Regions from separate parts of the Homo sapiens genome. Here all the other regions are linked to region 3. The links are contacts of gene promoters, found by promoter capture Hi-C in blood cells and fetal thymus (Javierre and others, 2016). All regions are on one chromosome and are shown on one strand. The core of a region is centred on a gene start or on the middle of the fragment in contact, and the rest is flanking DNA. Distances in the headings are between cores, read along the strand shown. Region 1 holds the start of SLC2A4 (solute carrier family 2 member 4). Region 2 holds the start of CLEC10A (C-type lectin domain containing 10A). Region 3 has its middle 5.2 kb from the start of TNFSF12. Region 4 holds the start of DLG4 (discs large MAGUK scaffold protein 4). Region 5 holds the start of CTDNEP1 (CTD nuclear envelope phosphatase 1).

Region 1 (3,405 bases), core at 906-3,405, 260 kb after region 3:
CCGTGAGTACCTGAGTAGGCGCCAATGAGGAATCGTCCAAGGATGAGCATTTCATAGGAGGCAGCAGCATTGGCCAGGCCCATGAGGCTGCCCCCCAGCACCGCCAGGACATTGTTGACCAGCATGGCCCTTTTCCTGGCAGGCAGACAGAGTGAGGCTGTGAGGGTGAGGGCACCCAGCAGTGGCTCCCTTCCTGTTTCCCCCACCCCTGCCCTCCAGCTGCGAACCTTCCAAGCCACTGAGAGATGATACCAATGAGGAAGGAGGAAATCATGCCGCCCACGGAAAAGATGGCCACGGAGAGGGCCCAGAGGGTGGTGAGGGTGCCTGGAGGGATGGAGCTGGGTCCCTCAGGCCCCTGCCTCCCCAGCCACGTCTCATTGTAGCTCTGTTCAATCACCTGGGGGACAGCAGAGGACAGATTTCCTGCAGACCGTCCCCTTTCCACCACCCCCGAGACACCTGTCCTCCTCGTTTGGGTACCCCCACCCTGCCAGCTGCAGGCCCTCACCTTCTGAGGGGCATTGATGACCCCAATGTTGTACCCAAACTGCAGGGAGCCAAGCACCGCAGAGAACACAGCAAGGACCAGGGTCCCAGTCACTCGCTGCTGAGGGGGTTCCCCATCCTGAACAGGCAGACACAAAGACACAGCATGTCACATGGAACCATGATTTTTTTCCTTCCGCTAGGGGCCCGGGCCCAGCTGGAGCCTGAAGATACTGGGCTCCACCCAACATGTTGGGTGAGGGAAACTGGGCCATATTAGGAATTGCACAAAGATCTCAATGTAAACAGGAGCTGAACTGCAACCTGGGCATAAAGGAGAAACTGGATGTTTGGGTCCATAAGGCAGAGAAATGTTTGAGAACTTGTCTCAAAATTCTTCTGTGACCTTGAGACAGGCTTGGCCTTAAGAGCTCAGATTTGTGTGACCTTGGCCAAGTCACTTCCCTGCCCCGAACCTGAGTGTCCTCTGTGAGATGGGGGTGATGTTGCCTGCCTTGCCTACCTATCTGTGAGAGTGTTGTGAAAATCAACATCACATGTTAACAATATCCTTGACAGTGCTGGTTTCATAAATTAACACGTGCATTATTATCATCAGCCACTGTCCTCTTCCCTCCCCTCTGGGGGTTCTGTCAGCCAGCTCCAGGAGGCCCCCAACAGGACCAAGAAGTGCTGTTCCAGAAAGGACATCCCGGTCATCTAGGGGTGGCCTTCTCTATCTACGTCGTGGCCTGCCCTCCCCCTCTAACCTCCGTGCAGGGAGGGCCGTCCAGGGGTTCTGCCTGGGAGAGCCATGCCCAGGGGAGGAGGGCAGGAAGGTAGTGTGAGGGGCGGTGGCAGTGGTGGCCGCTCGCTGGCGGCACAGACTGTCTCCAAGCGGAAACCTGAGCTGGAGGAGGGGGGGCTGACAGTCCCCTCTGCCCCTCCACCAACCATGGGGCCAAGGGAAAGTTCAGCGTCCTGGAGGGCGGCCAGGAGTGGGGGTGGGGGCCCACGGAGAGCCTCCGGTCCTCGAAACACTGCCCGTGAGCGAAGACGGACGGACAGCTCCCGGAGGGCAAGACCCGCCTGGATCTGCTTTCCCGAGTCGGATCGAGGGCAGGGTGTCCCCGATTCCGGAGCGCCGCGCCGCCTACTAGGCAAGGGGGTGAACCCTGGCTCGCAGAATCCACTTGCTGCCTGTGCCCCGAAAGGCCCTCCAGACCCACTCTGCCTTTTGGTAGGATTGGAATCTCACAGTCACGGGTTGTCCAGGCCGGGTATAAATAGCCAGCCCCCTACCTTCACCCCCTGCGCCTGCGCAGGAACCACCCCCAGCTGACCCCAACCGCGACCCCAGCCCAAGAAAAGCGGGACCCGTGCCCCCCCGCCCCGCCCCCTCATGATGAATCCTACTTCGGAGCCTATCTGTTGGAAGCCCGACGGCATCTCGTCTTAGAAGAGCTGGACGCGCAGGGGCGGCGAAGATGAAAGAACCGATCCTGGAGTCTCTGACTCCGGCCTGGAGCGCAGAACCTGCGGAGGCCGCGGGGGTCCCGGAGTGACGTGCGAGGGCGGGCCCGATGGGACCCACAGCCACAAGCCAAGGACCCGGAGAGCAGTGGGGCTCCCGCGGATCTGGTGGAGCGGGGCTGGGGGAAAAGACGCGAGAAGCCCCCGCCACCTCGCTCCTGCCCCCGCGGGCCACGCCCTTCACAGCACCCATTGGCCAGGAGCCCGCACACCCCAGAAGGCCACGCCCCCTCCGCCTGGGGTTTAGAGTTTGGCTGGAGTTGGTGGGGCGGGCCAATGAGGCCACGCCCCTCCGCGTGGCTGGCGAGACACGCCTCTCGGGTTCCCGCCAGCCTCCGACTGGGAAGTTTTGAGAAAAGAGTCCCTGGAACAAAAGGCCCCGCCCACCCACGTGTTAGGACTCCGCCCACCAGCTAGGATCCCGGGCTGCAGAAGCATCTTAAACTCTGCGGGTCTGGACAGTGGGGTCTGAGAGGAGAGGACGGGCCAGGTGTACTTGCCCCGGGGAAACTCCAGCGGCCTGAGACGGCTCGCGAGCCGGCGCGCGGGTTGGGAGAGGAGCAATGCCCCAAAGTAACCCGGGGCTGCTATTTTTAGCTCCCACGTTGGGAGCCTCCAAATGTCAGGTCCCGGGCGTCCCGGCCTGTCCCAGGCGGGGGCGGAGAGACAGGGAGATGACGCCTTAAAGAGTCCGCGACATGCTTCCCACGCGAGTGTGGCCCTGGGGGCCAGGAAATTCCGTTCCCACAACGGGTCTGGTGGCCGGGCTGCTTGGTCCTGTCTTTCAGCGCCTCCCTGCTCCGGGCACTGTCTATCCCGCCCTTCCCCTACACACATTCCCCAGGTTGGTTCCTGGAGCCGGTCCGAGGGACAAGTGGTCACAACCGACCACACCACCAGCCCTGAGGTCTCTGAGCCTCTGAGGTCTCTGAGCATATGCTGGCCGCGTGAACGACACGCTCTCTGGAGGCTGCTCCGGGTTTGGATCCTCGGCCAAATTCTGCCAGGCAGAAAGTGCGCGACCTAGGGTCGGCGTGTGGGGAGAGAGAAGCCGAAATACCCAGAGCGTGGAGAGTGTCTGGCTCAGAAAACGGGCTTCGGAAGCGCAGGGTTGTGCTGCCACCTGGAGGGCGAGCGAGGAGCCGCAGTGGATTGCACTTGGAATCTCAACCCACTATTTCTCGCCTTTCCGCCACCATAGGGCTTCAGTGACATCTGACCCAGGCCCTTCTCTGGAGCTGCAGATCCAGGTGTTCGTTACCGCCCGGATGTGGCAGCTCTAGTGATCAGCATGTCCAAACCTGCTCCTCCTCCTAACTTCCTTATTTCAATGAATTACCCGCCCAGTCACCCCTATGGTAGAAGTCAGGCTCGATTCCTCCT
Region 2 (3,342 bases), core at 812-3,311, 460 kb after region 3:
GAACACATGGATACAGGGAGGGGAACATCACACACCAGGGTCTGTCAGGGGGTGGGCGGCAAGGGGAGGGAGAGCATTAGGACAAATACCTAATGTATGCGGGCCTTAAAACCTAGGTGATGGGTTGATAGGTGCAGCAAACCACCATGGCACACGTATACCTACGTAACAAACCTGCACATTCTGCACATGTATCCCAGAACTAAAAAAAAAAAAAGAAGCTTCAAACCCACTGAACCAGACTGAAAAAAAAAAGTTAGTGAATGGAGAAATATCATGTTCTTTTCATGGAAGATTCAACAATGTCAAAATGTTGATTATCTCCAAATTAATATGTGAATACACTGCAAGACTGTGGTAGACACACAGAGAGCTACCCAGGTCCCCCTTCTAGGAAGGATGTGGTGACCCACTGTGGGGAGTGTAACCTGCAGACAGCTGCTTCCTGAGGTCACACCCATGTCAGGGCTGACTGCCAGTGACCGAAGGAGCTGGTGCTCTACAGGACCCTGTGGCAGTCCAATGCTGGACAGCTCCCGGGGGTGGCATTGTTTGAACCCAGAGCTCCCTGTTGGTTTGGTTGAAGCTCTCCAAAGTGCTGGGCTTCTCCCTCTGCCCAGCACCATTTCATCCACTTTCCTTTTCGAAGTGCTAATCCCTAATAAATAGCTTGTACCCCAAATTCAGCCTCAACCTTGGCTTCCAAAAACCGAACCTGCGACATATACTAATCAAAATACCGAATACCAAATAAAAACAAAACTGGCAACGACCTGGCCGGGTGCGGTGGCTCGCGCCTGTAATCCCTGCACTTTGGGAGGCTGAGGCGGGCAGATCATGTGAGGTCAGGAGGTCAAGACCAGCCTGGCCAATATGGTGAAACCCCTCTCTACTAAAAATACAAGAATTAGCTGGGTGTGGTGGCGGGACCTGTAATCTCGGCTACTCGGGAGGCTGAGGCAGGAGAATCGCTTAAACCCAGGAGATGCAGTAGCCGAGATTGTGTCACTGCACTCCAGCCTGGGCAACAGAGTGAGACTCTGTCTCAAAAAAATAAATAAATAAATAAAATAAAAAAGAAAAGAAAAAGAAACAACTTAAATTTCTGATTTATTTCTGTCAATAGAGAAATGCTAAATAAATAAATTACGGTGCCTATGATGAAATGAGGTGCAGGTAGATCAAGTACATTTTATAAACTGATGTGGAGAAATGTTCCTGATAGCTTGTTAACTCCAAAAAAAAAAAAAAAAAGCACATAGCAGAACACAACCCCATGTACATACAAAATATAACCTAAAATGTATTTCTTCTCCTTCTCCACCTTGTAAGATACTCAGTTTCCTTCCTACTGAAAGGGATGTGCGCGTGGATTCAGGGCAGCTCCCTTAGGGGTTGAGCAGGGATCATGGGATGAAATGGAATCCTGTTCATGAAGACAGCGCCTGTGCTGAGAGCCAGAGCAGGGTGCCAAACTGTCTCCTTACAAGCTGTGAGTGATCTTGGGCTCTGAGCCTTTAGTCCGTCATCCAAAATGCCTCCCCAGGTGCTTGGGGGGAATGGTTGTGGAAGGTAAATGTCTGGCATAATCCTATCACAGATTACTCAATAAAATTTGCTCTTTTCCTTGGCTTCTCCCGTCCTATTAGGGCCAAGAAGTTCTATTCTCTGGCACCCCCTTCCCTCCTTCCGAGTGGAGTGAGGCGAGCGAGGCCACAGCTGAGCAGCCGAATGACTGGGACCCAGAGGATGCTGATGCCAGGGACTCAGGCCAGGATTGAGCAAGAGAACAGACTGGGCTTCTCTAGGATCAGAGGTGCGATGATGGAGACCCAACAATTCTGGGAAATGTAGAGGCAGGAAGTGAAAGGAAGTGTAGGGTAGAGGAGCAACAGCAGATTGTACCTCTGATCCAGCCCTGCTCCCAGATGGTAAAAATGAGGAAGCTCCGAGAAGAGGAAAGGAAGTAGGCATGGCCTGGAGGAGGAGAACAGAGCTGGCCTCAAACCCAACTCTCCCCACCCACACATGGTCTCTGTGTGTTCTAATCCCTGTTCATTCTCATTTACTGTCTAAAGTTGAGGAGATGGGATGTCCCAGATGATAGGGCTCCTGGGATTTCAGACCCAAGACCAGCAGGACTCCAGTCACCTCTACCCCAGCTCTCCAGGACACAGCGCTCCCAACTCTGAGTGACGTCCCACCTCTGGTCCTTGCAGCACAACCAACGTGGGAATCACACCCTCCAGACCTCCCACAGGTAATGGTGCTGCCGGTGCCGGTGAGACCCAGGGGACAGGGGATGTCAGAGGAAGCAGGGAGAGGGGGACTTTGGGTCTTGGGTGGGACTAAATGAAAATAAATATAAGGCGGCAGTGTGGGGTTTAATTACTACGTGGAGATTTGAGACTCTGTTCCCTTCACTGGATTCTAGATTGGGTTACGGCAGCCACAATCCCCTGTCATAAACTAAGACTCCGGGAGCTGAGGCAGGAGAATCTTGTGAACCCAGGAGGCAGAGGTTGCAGTGAGCCGAGACGGCCTCGTTGCACAACAGCCTGGGCGACAAGAACGAAATTCCATCTCAAAAAATAAATAAATAAAAATAAAAATAAACTAAGACTCAGACTCAGCCTCATTGGTGGCCCATTTCCAGCCTTATCTTCATCTCAGCCCAGCCATGCCCTAATCCCAATACTAACCCCAGCTTCTACATTTTCTTTTTTTTTGAGACTGAGTCTCACTGTGTCGTCCAGGCTGGAGTGCAACGGCACAACCTCGGCTCACTGCCACCTCTGCCTCCTGGGTTCAAGTGATTCTCCTGCCTCAGCCTCCCAAGTAGCTGGGATTACAGGCGCACACCACCACACCCAGCTAATTTTTGTATTTTTAGTAGAGATGGGGTTTCACCATGTTGGCCAGGCCGGTCTCAAACTCCTGACCTAAAGTGATCTGTCTGCTTCGGTCTCCCAAAGTGCTGGGATTTATAGGCGTGAGCCACCGCACCTGTCGCCCCCCACCCAGCTCCTACTTCAACCCCAACCCCAGAATCAACTTGAATTTTAACACCAGCCCAAAGCCAAAATTGAACCTCGACTCTATTCTGTTTCCAAATTCACCACCAAAGTTAACCCCAATTCCATCCATGGCTCCAACGTGCATACTGACCCCAATCCTAGCATGAGATACAACCTCCAGTCCTGCCTGATTAACTGGCCCACTGGGTAGTCCTAGCAATGCGTTTAGCTCCAACGTTACCCTCCAGTTTCACTCCCAAACTCAACTCGACCCCAATTCTAACTCGACTGCAAACCCAGGCTCATTTCCGTCTTAACCCTGGGC
Region 3 (2,944 bases), core at 315-2,814:
GTCGAACTCCCAACCTCAGGTGATTCACCCGCCTCAGCTTCCCAAAGTGCTGGGATTACAGGCGTGAGCCACTGCACCCAGCCTCTACTTGATTTTTATTATCAGGTGAATGCAGCATTTTAATTTGTAAAAAGAAAAAAATTGTACAGCAGCAAGCGTGCTGAGGAGAGGGAAAGTCATTACTCATCTCAGCCAGCGTGTGATCACACCTGCTAAAGGAAAAAAACAGGGACTGGAGCCTTGGAGACAGCAGATCATCCTCAGATCCTTTAACTTTGGCTTGAAAAATTAATTCAATACACTTAACCTTTTTGTTCTTGGTTTGCGGCCAAAGTTAAAATTAACTTGCATTTTTTAGGACACTGATAGGAAGTAACTTGGGAAACATGCAGGAAAAATACTGAAAGGAAATCTGCTAATATTTTTTATTCCTGCCTTTTTACACTTTTCTTACTTTTCACATTTTCAACCAAGATACTAAAGGAAAAAAAGGCTTTGTCATTTTCTTTTTTGTTTTTCTTTTTGGATATCCAGCTTGATTAGTATCACTTAAATGCAAGGCCATGCCTGGTGGTCACGCCTGTAATCCCAGCATTTTGGGAGGCTGAAGCGTGCAGATCACTTGAGGTCAGGAGTTTGAGACCAGCCTGGCCAACATGGTGAAACCCCGTCTCTACTAAAAATACAAAAATTATCCGGGTGTGGTGACGCATGTCTGTAATCCCCCTTACTCAGGAGACTGAGGCAGGAGAATAGCTTGAACCCAAGAGGCGGAGGTTGCAGTGAGCCGAGATCCCAGCTACTTGGGAGGCTGAGGCAGGAGAATCGCCTGATCCCAGGAGGCAGAGGTCGCAGTGATCTGAGATCGTGCAATTGCACTTTAGCCTGGGTGACAAGAGTGAAACTCCGTCTCAAAAAAAAATCACTTAAATGCAAATAAAGAATTTCACGTAGTCTGTAAGGGTAGGGACTGTGTATGCTTTGCAGGCATTGTATTTCCAGGGTCAGCAAAAGTTTGTTGAATGAATAAATATGGCCTAGCCTTCCCAGTCTGGCAGTGACTACTGAATATGGTGATAGTAGCAGCCTGAGAGTGGACAGTGACCATCCCAGTTTGCCGGGACTAAGGAGGTTCCCAGGATGAGGTACTTTCAATGCTAAAACCAGGACAGTTCTGGAAAAACCAGGATGAGTTGCTAACAGACCCAAGAGAGGACTAAATGCCACCCCCAAGCCACCACCACACTCACTTTTGGTCAAAATTCTTAAGCTTTATTTAAGCTTTAATCAGTCAATCAAACAACTCAAATCCCTGTCCTGGGCTTCTTTCTCTTTCCACTTCTACCTGCCACCTCCGTCTTCCCTAGATGTATGTCTGTCTGTATTTATCTGTTTGTTTGTTTGTTTAGTTATTTATTTATGTGAGACAGGGTCCTGTTATGTTGCCTAGGCTGGTCTCAAATTCCTGGGATCAAGGGATCCTCCTGTCTCAGCCTCCCAAGTAGCTGGGTTTACAGGCGTGTGCCATCATCCTGGGCTCTTCCCCAGACTTTACCTACCTTCTCTTCACTGATGACCCTCCTGTCCTCTTCTCCCCACTTCCCCAGTGAACATGGGCTCCACGTGGTTGGTCATCACCACAGGTCTCTCTCGTACTAAATCCAGCAGATACACCTTGGCCCTCATCTTACTTATTTGCAGCCTCTACGATTGTTTCCCACTCTCATTCTGAAGTCCTCCTTCCTTGGCCTCTTACCATTCTGCCTTCTAGTTTCCTTCACTGGTTATTTTAAGAACATAAATGTGCTATATTTAAGCTGGTTCATTCATTATATTACCAAGCTTGGTATCACAAATAGACTTCATATAGAAATGCTATAATCCTTCCTTCCCCTCCTTCCCTGCCTCCCTCTGTTCCTTCCATCCTTCCATTCCTTTCTTTCATAATAAGATGTTCCAGCTGCACCTTGTACTTCCTCAGCACCAGCCCTGAGATCAGAAGCCATTTCTTCAGGGAACGGTGCCCTTTCACGGAGAAGGATATTTAGCAACTAAGATCTGGGCACCGGGTAAACTCAGCATTCCTGGAAGTGAGGACTTTTAGCAGACAAAGATAGGATAGATACATATTGCATAAGTTCACAAGGACACTCTAATTTTGGTCCAACATCACAACATTCTGCCTCACGTCCCCTGTCCCATATATGTATCCCCTGTGTTAGTCTCGATGACAATGCTGTGTTTCCATCATTGCATTTCTCACAACTCGCACTTCTGGTCTTCCTCCCTCACTCAACCGTGAAGTTCTACTGGTTCAGGGGCCAAGTCTGTCTTGTAGACCATTGTTTCTCTGGTGTCTTGCTTAGTGCCTGACACACAGTAGGCACTTTATGTATTTGTTGAATGAATGGGTGGTCCAAGGGAATTCCCCAGGAGACTCTACCTGGGCCTTCTCTCCCTGGATAGGGGCTCCCTCTGAGCTCCACAGATGCCTGTTTTTGCCCCAGCCACACCACTATCTCATCATGTTACCATCTGGGCTCATCTGACTCTCCTACTCTCATGTCATGAGGGGGGGACCGTGGTTTACTCATCTTTGTTCCCTAGAACCTGGCTAATGCCTTACCATAGTAGTTGCTCAATAAATATTTGTTGCATAGAAGAGTGAATGATTTTGCTCAAATGCCAAAGCCAAGATATGGAAGCACCAGAATTCAAACCTGGGTCTCCAAAATGACATCCTGTCTCCATACCTGTTCCATTCCCCTCTGGACGAAGGAAGAGAGGACCCAGCCTGATAACAGTGCAGGGCTTGGTGGGGTTGCAAGGCTGGGTGGGCAATCCTGAGCCTGACCTGTTTTTTTTTTTTTTTTTTTTTGAGACGAAGTTTTGCTCTTGGTTTTGGTTTTTTTTTTTTTTTTTTTTTTGAGACAGAGTTTCACTC
Region 4 (3,208 bases), core at 110-2,609, 330 kb after region 3:
CCTTGGGACCTGGGGGAATGGGACAGCTGGTCGGCTCAGAGACGGCCTACTTTACTCACAGCTGGAATTTAGTGGGGAGAAGCAGCTCAACTCCAATCCTGGAGGATTAGGGAGATTAAAGTGAGAGAAGAGAGAGATGTCCCAGAGACCAAGAGGTGAAAAACAGGGCTCCTTGTGGAGGGGAGGTCTGGGAGCGAAGTGGGGGGCTGGGGCTCGGAGATCCTTCTCCCCAAATCTTTCCGTAGGGGCTGGGGTGAAGGGCACAGTCTGGGGAGATGAAGTGACAGTGTGTTCATCTTCCTGTGTTGGCATCTTCCCTGTCCCAATTCTCCTTGCATCTCACTAGCTCCCAGGTCAGCCCTCTGGCTCCTGGCACCCCCACTGCTGCGGTGGGCACCCCCACTCCTCACAGTGCTGCATAGCGACCTCTTCCAGGCCTTGCTGGGTGAGTAGCCCGTTTTCTGAGGGACCTGGGCCTCCAAGGGCCATTACTGAACTTCGGGGGCTGTTTGGGAGCCCAGAGATCATTTGGTCCAAGCTGGAGCACCATGCAGGGTCCTGCCTATGGTGTCCTCCATGAGTGTGGACCAGCCTTGGCTGAAAGGGCTCCTCCCTTGCCAGCCAGCCAGCAGCGGTGATGACAGGGGTGATGTGCCTGGAGAGGCCTGGGGTGGGGAGGTAACTCAGTTCTGTTCCTGTGACAGACATCCTGGACTATTATGAGGCTTCCCTCTCAGAGAGTCAGGTAAGGAGGTGGGGGCGAGCGCCTAACTTCCTGAGGGGCAGGCAGGGCTGGAGGGGTGAGCCAAATATCACTAATATTACCTGGAATCTTGGGGGCCCTGCTGACAAAAGCCTGAGTCAGTGGCCCAGGGACTTGGGGCACCGAGAATGCACTCTCTGTGGTCCTGTACCCACTCTCCCTTTCTTCCTCGTTTTCTTTGGCTGCCCCAGTTTCAGGCACTAAAGAGTCTAGGGCTTAACTTTTTAGGTTTCCCCCTGAGAAACCTGAGGGAGAACTAGGCCCCCAGGGATTGCCTCCTTCAGCTCCTCCCTCACACCCGACCCCCTACCGCCTGCCGAGAGGCCTCCCTCCCGTATTCAAATAACCGTGGGTGCTCCCAGCCCAACTATAGATGCTTCCTTCTCTAAGAAATGAAATCCAGCCTCATCGTCTTTGCTGTCATCGCTGGTGGCTGGCCAGGTCTCCATGTTTGCCTCAGGGGCCTCTGTGCTTCTGCTTCTATCTCCTTTCCCATTATCCGGGTTCCTGCCAGCACAGAAGGAGTTAACTCTGCCAAGGCACCCCCCCCATTCTGGCTCCTAGCTCCCTCCCTCCCTCCCCCTGCTTCCTCTCTCCTCCTCTCTCCCCTTCCCTCTTCGGCTCCACGGCTCCCTCGGCCGCTGCCGTTTCCAACCCCCCCACCCCACTCCCCCGCCACGGCCCCTAGCCCCTGGCCGTTTGGCAAGACCCCCCCCTACCCCGGGGCTCCCCGAAATCCAGTTCCCCTCCCCCACCCCAGCTCATGCCCCAGCCCCCGAACTCCGGGGCTGCCAGCCCCCGGTGCCCCCGCCCCTCCTGAGAATCGGGGTGTGCTCCCCAAGCCCCCTCCCCTCCACTGGGGAGCCCCTTTTAGGGCCCCCTTCCCCTCCCTCCCACGCTCCCCTCCCCTTCCCTTCTCCAACCCCCTCCTTCCCCTCTCACCCCTCCCCCCATCCTGGCCCCCCCTGCAAAAGTGGGGTGCGGAGGGGGGAGGGGTGAGAACCCACGGAGGGGAGGAACGAAACTCCGATGAAGTCAGAGCCCCTTACCCGCCGCCGCGGCCAGGCCCCCCAACATGGACTGTCTCTGTATAGTGACAACCAAGGTAAGCATGATGGGGGGGCTATAAACTGGGGGGAGGGTATGAGTTTGTGGGGAGGGGTTAGTAGGCCTTATCTGGGACTGGCGCCCCTGGAGTGGCAGCATCAGAAGTAAGATGTATTTGGGGGTCTTAATTTAGTTTTGGGGTTCACATCTGAGAAAATGCAGGATTTGGCCACAGGTGCCCCCTGGAGTGATCCCTTTGTACCTGTAGGGATATGGAAAATTTAGGATATTCCATGGTTCGGGGGGCCTGGCGGGTTTGGGGGTTCATCAGCGCTGTTTGAGGGAGACTTATTTAAGGAGAAGCCTGGCTCATAAGGGAGTCCTGCTGGTGTATGTGGGAAGGTGGGCTATGTTGGGGGGTTCCTCTTTCCTCCCCAGGGAAAAGCTGGCTTCCAAGGGCCTTGTCCAGTTTTGGGGGGCTCCTGGCATGGGGTAAAGGTTATTGGTTGTGAGTGCCTGACTGATCTGGGGGTGTCAGCTGGCAGGGAAGGGGTGGGCCTTCAGACTCTAGAACAAGCATCTCGTGGTGGCTGCATTTAGGGATGCTCTCTCAATTTGAGGGAACTGTTAATTTAGGGTTCAGTCATATAGAATGGAGGTAGTTGGAAGTTGTCAGAGGGCTGGGGCCCTGGCATGGGATCACCTGAGGGAATGGACCAGGTGAGGCAAGGATTTGGGGGTACTCCCATAGGAGGCAGAAGATTGCAGCAGCCGAGCTTGCCAGCCCCTGAGGAGGAGGATGAGAGGCTTAGGGAGAGAGGGGATTTGAGGAGGGGGACCGGGTGGGTGGTGCACAATTTGGGGGTGGCCCAAAGGCAGGTGCCCAATATCCCCATCTCCTCCCACACTGTATCTAGCCCTGATCAAGAGAGAGGGAGAAGAGCAGATGTGGGGACTGTTCCAGATACCCCTGACGCTTGGGATCAAGGTGGGGGAGGACACCTGGATTTAAGGGTCCCTGAGGGCTTATGACCGAAGTTACTGAGGTTACTGGGGTGAAAAGGTGTAGGAGGAGGGCAGGGCTGGCAGCGATGGGGATCTGTGCAAGAGTGTCCCTCTGGTTGGAGCCTGGCAAAGGCAGGAGATCTCGGATGGAGCACAGGCGAGCTCCTGGTGGGATGCAGATACCTAGGCTCTCCTTGGAGACTCTGGGACTGGAGAGCTGGATGCCTGGTGTGTGGAGGGAGGCTTGGGCGGGTGGCAGGCAGCTGGGGGCTGGGGGGTGGGACAGGAAGTGGGGGCCGGGGGAGGCGGGGTCCGGGTGAGTCACAGGCTGGGGAGGGGGTTATATTTAGTGGGAACTGCAGCTTTTCATGGGAGGGAGCTGAGGACACACAT
Region 5 (3,303 bases), core at 1-2,500, 290 kb after region 3:
GAGTCAAAACCTTCACGAAACTCTTCCTCGCTCACTTCACAGCCCAGGATATGCACTTGCTCCCCACTAAGGCAGAGATGAGAAGGGATTGTCAAAGAGTGGGCACAGGTGCCCTATCCAGGGTAGGCCGGGGAGACACTGTGGGATACTCACCACAGTGCAGATTTCTTGACAAGCGCCTTCAAGAGACTGCGCCCCTCCCACTCCACGGAATCTGCAGAGCGAGGGACGGATAAAGGGTATGAGAGCGCTGGGATTACCGCCTTCGCGAACCCGTCGCGATTTCCACACCTAGCCTGTGACCCCTGGCCCTTCCTGCCCACTTCCGTCCCCTCAGCCAGGCCCGAACCGCACCCCCCGCCCCGCCACCGTGCCTCTGGCTCTCACCCCGAAGCAGCACCAGGCCGCCCAAGGCCAACAGCGAGTCCAACATCTCCAACTCGCGTCCGGTCCCTGCTCTGGCGCCCTCTGATGGCGTCATGACCCAGTGTCCTTCCTCCTCGGGGTGAAACGGGCCGAGCACTCGGGCGTCCTCCCACCATTAAGACCTAACATAGTCTGGAATGAGAGGTGATTATGTTCAATATTCCCAGGGGGGCGCTCACGCGGAGGGCGCCCCTCCCCGAGCCCTGGCGCACAGTCGTACGGACAACGACCCCGTCTACATTTTCACTGTGACCGGGGCGGGAAGAGCAGTTGGGGCAGTTGTCAGTGGGAGGGGGAGGAGGACCCACAAGCCCCCCGCGAGGGCCCTAAGCGCGGGCCAAGTGACGTCACTCTCCCCGCCCACGCAGTTTGAGGCGGGGCCTGCTTCGCCTCAGGCCCCGCCCCGCGGCCACCTTCTGCGCGTGCGCAATACTGCAGCCTCGCTTGGAGTGCTTTTGGCTTTCCTTATACCTACCCGCCATAGACCGCGCAGGAGGAACTTAGTCCCGGTGAAGCGAATACACGTCACCACCGGAAGTAGTGTCAAAGGGGAAGAGGAGGGGGAAAGACAGGAAGAGGGAGTCCTTTGGACGGTAAAATGGCGCCTGTCAGAGTGGGAAACCCAGCTGCAGAGGCTGCAGCCCCGGTCCCCAGCGGCTAAAGGACCCCCGAGCTCGGGGAGGGGGAGGCCGCTCCGGCCCAGCGCTCTGCGCCCTCCGGCTCCCCCTCCCCCTCCTTCCCTGCTCCTTCGCTCTGCAGGCCCGTTCTCCGCTGCCGCGGCCCTTTGCGCGCCGCTGCCCCCGCCCTCCCCGTTCCTGCGAGCAGCCCCCTAGCGCGCCTGCGCAGCGGGCCACTCTCTGCTTTCCCCCCCTCCCCTTCCCTTTTCCCTTCCTCCCTTTTCCCTAGCCCCCTCCCCCACTGCCCCCTCCCCCAATTATCCTTCCCCTTCCCTCCAGGTCTCGGAGGACCCCATCCTAGCCCTACCTGTCTCGGCCCGCAACCTCCCCGAAGCCGTCGGTGCCACTCCCAGCCCATGTGGGCCCCCGCGGGCTGCCCACGCCTGTCCCCCAGCTCCCCGTTCCGCTGGGCTTTACCCTCGCCAGGGGTGGCTTTCTGAGCCGCCCGCTCCGTGCCCCTCTCTGCAGCCTCTCCTGCCACTCGGGGCCCCCGTTCCCCCTCCCGGCGGCGGGGGGCTGCCCCCGGGGGGCTGGCGGAGCTGGGCCGCGGGGGCCCCGGGGCCGGCGGTGCCGGGGTCATCGGGATGATGCGGACGCAGTGTCTGCTGGGGCTGCGCACGTTCGTGGCCTTCGCCGCCAAGCTCTGGAGCTTCTTCATTTACCTTCTGCGGAGGCAGATCCGCACGGTGAGCCAGGGTGGGCGCTGGCGGTGTTGGGGACGTCTGGCGGTGTTGGGGACATCTGTCCGTGGTGCTCAGGGGTTTTCGGAGTGTCGGGCCTCTGTTTGGGCCTAGGAAGGGAATCCTGGCTGGGGCTTTTCTCGCCAGAGAATTGGGCACCCTAAGCGGGGCGAGGTGGGAGACCCTTGTAATAGAACCTTGCCCTTGGGGGTTTTGATGGGGCTAGATGGGACAGGATTTGGCAACTCTTGGGGGCTAAGGTGGTGGGTGGGGCGCTCTTTAAGAAAGCTGGAGTTGTTGCTAAAGAAACCAAGAGGCGGGGAACACCTGTTTGATGACAGCCGGATCTGTGGATGTGGGCTTGGGAAAGACCCTATTTGGAACCTCGGTGTGTGTTTGGTCCTATAACAAGGAAGAGACAGACTTGTGTGTCAAGGGTGGAGGTGGGTGGGAGGGCATACGTTACAAACAAGGACGGGAACTTGGGAAAGCCCTGGGTGTGAAGGAGAAACGCCTGCGGTTCCCATTAAGAGAATTCCTCCAAAAAGGCTGTGAAAATTTATTTCATAGTGTGAGTGTAGGTATCTGGATTTATTGAAGACTAAAGCAGATGCTTTTACGATGGGCCTCTTTAATTGTGGGAGGGAGTTCAAGGTGGGTGCTGTGCCCACCATTGAAGTTTGGGTGTCCCTGTCAGAGGACAGCGCTGGGCAGTTGTAGGGCTTGAAAATGAGGACGTTTGCTTCTCCAGGAGAGCCTAGCATTCTGAGGGAAACTGTCCGGATGGACCCAAGCATCTCTGGGTCCCCTCTCCCTTAGCTTTTCTCCAAGGTCAGAGGTCCTTCAGCTAACAGCACTTTAAATGAATGTGCTCTTGTGGTCTCACCACCACCAGGGAGAATCCTCGGAAGGAGTCTGGGGAGAATTTAGTAAGCGGAGACACAGGTTCTGGGTCTGTACTGTGGTCTGTACCCCTTAGCATACCTCAATACAATTTGAAAGAATAAACCCAGGTTGGGGTGACCTGGGGTCCAGAGAATTTCCAGAAAGCCCTCAGTGGTAGTGGTGGTTGATTTAACTGATTTGGGAGAATGGGTCTGGCCTTGGGTTCATTCTGTCCTTTACCAGTCTGCTTCCACTTCCTGATTTAGGGCGCGAACAGTACAGGATGGTTGTGGCTGTAGGCAGCAGCGCTATTCCCCCGAGACAAGAGCTAGGAGCCAAGAAAAATTTAGGGTCAGAGATGCTGGGATATGTGTGGGGCTATCTCCTGGGGTTTTCTTTTCTTTTCTGAGACAGTCTCGCTTTGTCGCCCAGGCTGGAGTGCAGTGGTGCCATCTCCGCTCACTGCAACCTCCACTTCCTGGGTTCAAGCGATTCTCCTGCTTCAGCCTCTCGAATAGCTGGGATTACAGGCACCTGCCACCACACCTGGCTAATTTTTGTAATTTTAGTAGAAACGGGTTTTCACCATGTTGGCCAGGATGGTCTCAAACTCCTGACCTCAAGTGATCTGCCCG

What was found. The method cuts DNA at HindIII sites, captures the fragments that hold promoters and counts their contacts. A CHiCAGO score of 5 or more calls a contact.
Region 1: the fragment with the promoter of SLC2A4 here is called in contact with a fragment that was not itself captured in region 3 in 2 of 17 cell types (total CD8 T cells and naive CD8 T cells); the score reaches 7.4 in total CD8 T cells.
Region 2: the fragment with the promoter of CLEC10A here is called in contact with a fragment that was not itself captured in region 3 in 1 of 17 cell types (monocytes); the score reaches 6.2 in monocytes.
Region 4: a contact is called between the fragment with the promoter of DLG4 here and a fragment that was not itself captured in region 3, in 2 of 17 cell types (monocytes and naive B cells). The highest score is 5.3, in monocytes.
Region 5: the fragment with the promoter of CTDNEP1 here is called in contact with a fragment that was not itself captured in region 3 in 7 of 17 cell types (total B cells, non-activated CD4 T cells, erythroblasts and 4 more); the score reaches 6.7 in total B cells.

Annotation. Positions count from the first base shown.
Region 1 is chr17:7,280,468-7,283,872 of GRCh38, reverse strand. It overlaps SLC2A4 (solute carrier family 2 member 4), which reads right to left and starts at 2,155. Exons shown (of 11, transcript NM_001042.3): 1 at 1,906-2,155; 2 at 512-628; 3 at 228-400; 4 at 11-135. The coding sequence starts at 1,938. RefSeq lists an enhancer at 922-1,909 and a silencer at 2,042-2,191. The HindIII fragment of the contact is 20,977 bases long and covers 1-3,405 here.
Region 2 is chr17:7,078,970-7,082,311 of GRCh38, reverse strand. CLEC10A (C-type lectin domain containing 10A) reads left to right here and starts at 2,061. Exons shown (of 9, transcript NM_001330070.2): 1 at 2,061-2,260. The HindIII fragment of the contact is 6,420 bases long and covers 224-3,342 here.
Region 3 is chr17:7,542,354-7,545,297 of GRCh38, reverse strand. No RefSeq gene overlaps it. Among named protein-coding and RNA genes, the nearest start is that of TNFSF12, 5.2 kb to the left of the region's middle. The HindIII fragment of the contact is 561 bases long and covers 1,284-1,844 here.
Region 4 is chr17:7,215,778-7,218,985 of GRCh38, reverse strand. DLG4 (discs large MAGUK scaffold protein 4) reads left to right here and starts at 1,359. Exons shown (of 20, transcript NM_001321075.3): 1 at 1,359-1,868. The coding sequence starts at 1,839. It also overlaps a transcript of ACADVL not described here. RefSeq lists an enhancer at 3,029-3,208. The HindIII fragment of the contact is 10,481 bases long and covers 1-3,208 here.
Region 5 is chr17:7,249,681-7,252,983 of GRCh38, reverse strand. It overlaps CTDNEP1 (CTD nuclear envelope phosphatase 1), which reads left to right and starts at 1,250. Exons shown (of 8, transcript NM_001143775.2): 1 at 1,250-1,789. The coding sequence starts at 1,688. ELP5 (elongator acetyltransferase complex subunit 5) reads right to left here and starts at 769. Exons shown (of 8, transcript NM_203414.3): 1 at 388-769; 2 at 154-214; 3 at 1-66. The coding sequence starts at 433. RefSeq lists silencers at 113-352, 1,123-1,332, 1,403-1,522 and enhancers at 383-602, 471-1,059, 1,060-1,647. The HindIII fragment of the contact is 9,547 bases long and covers 1-3,303 here.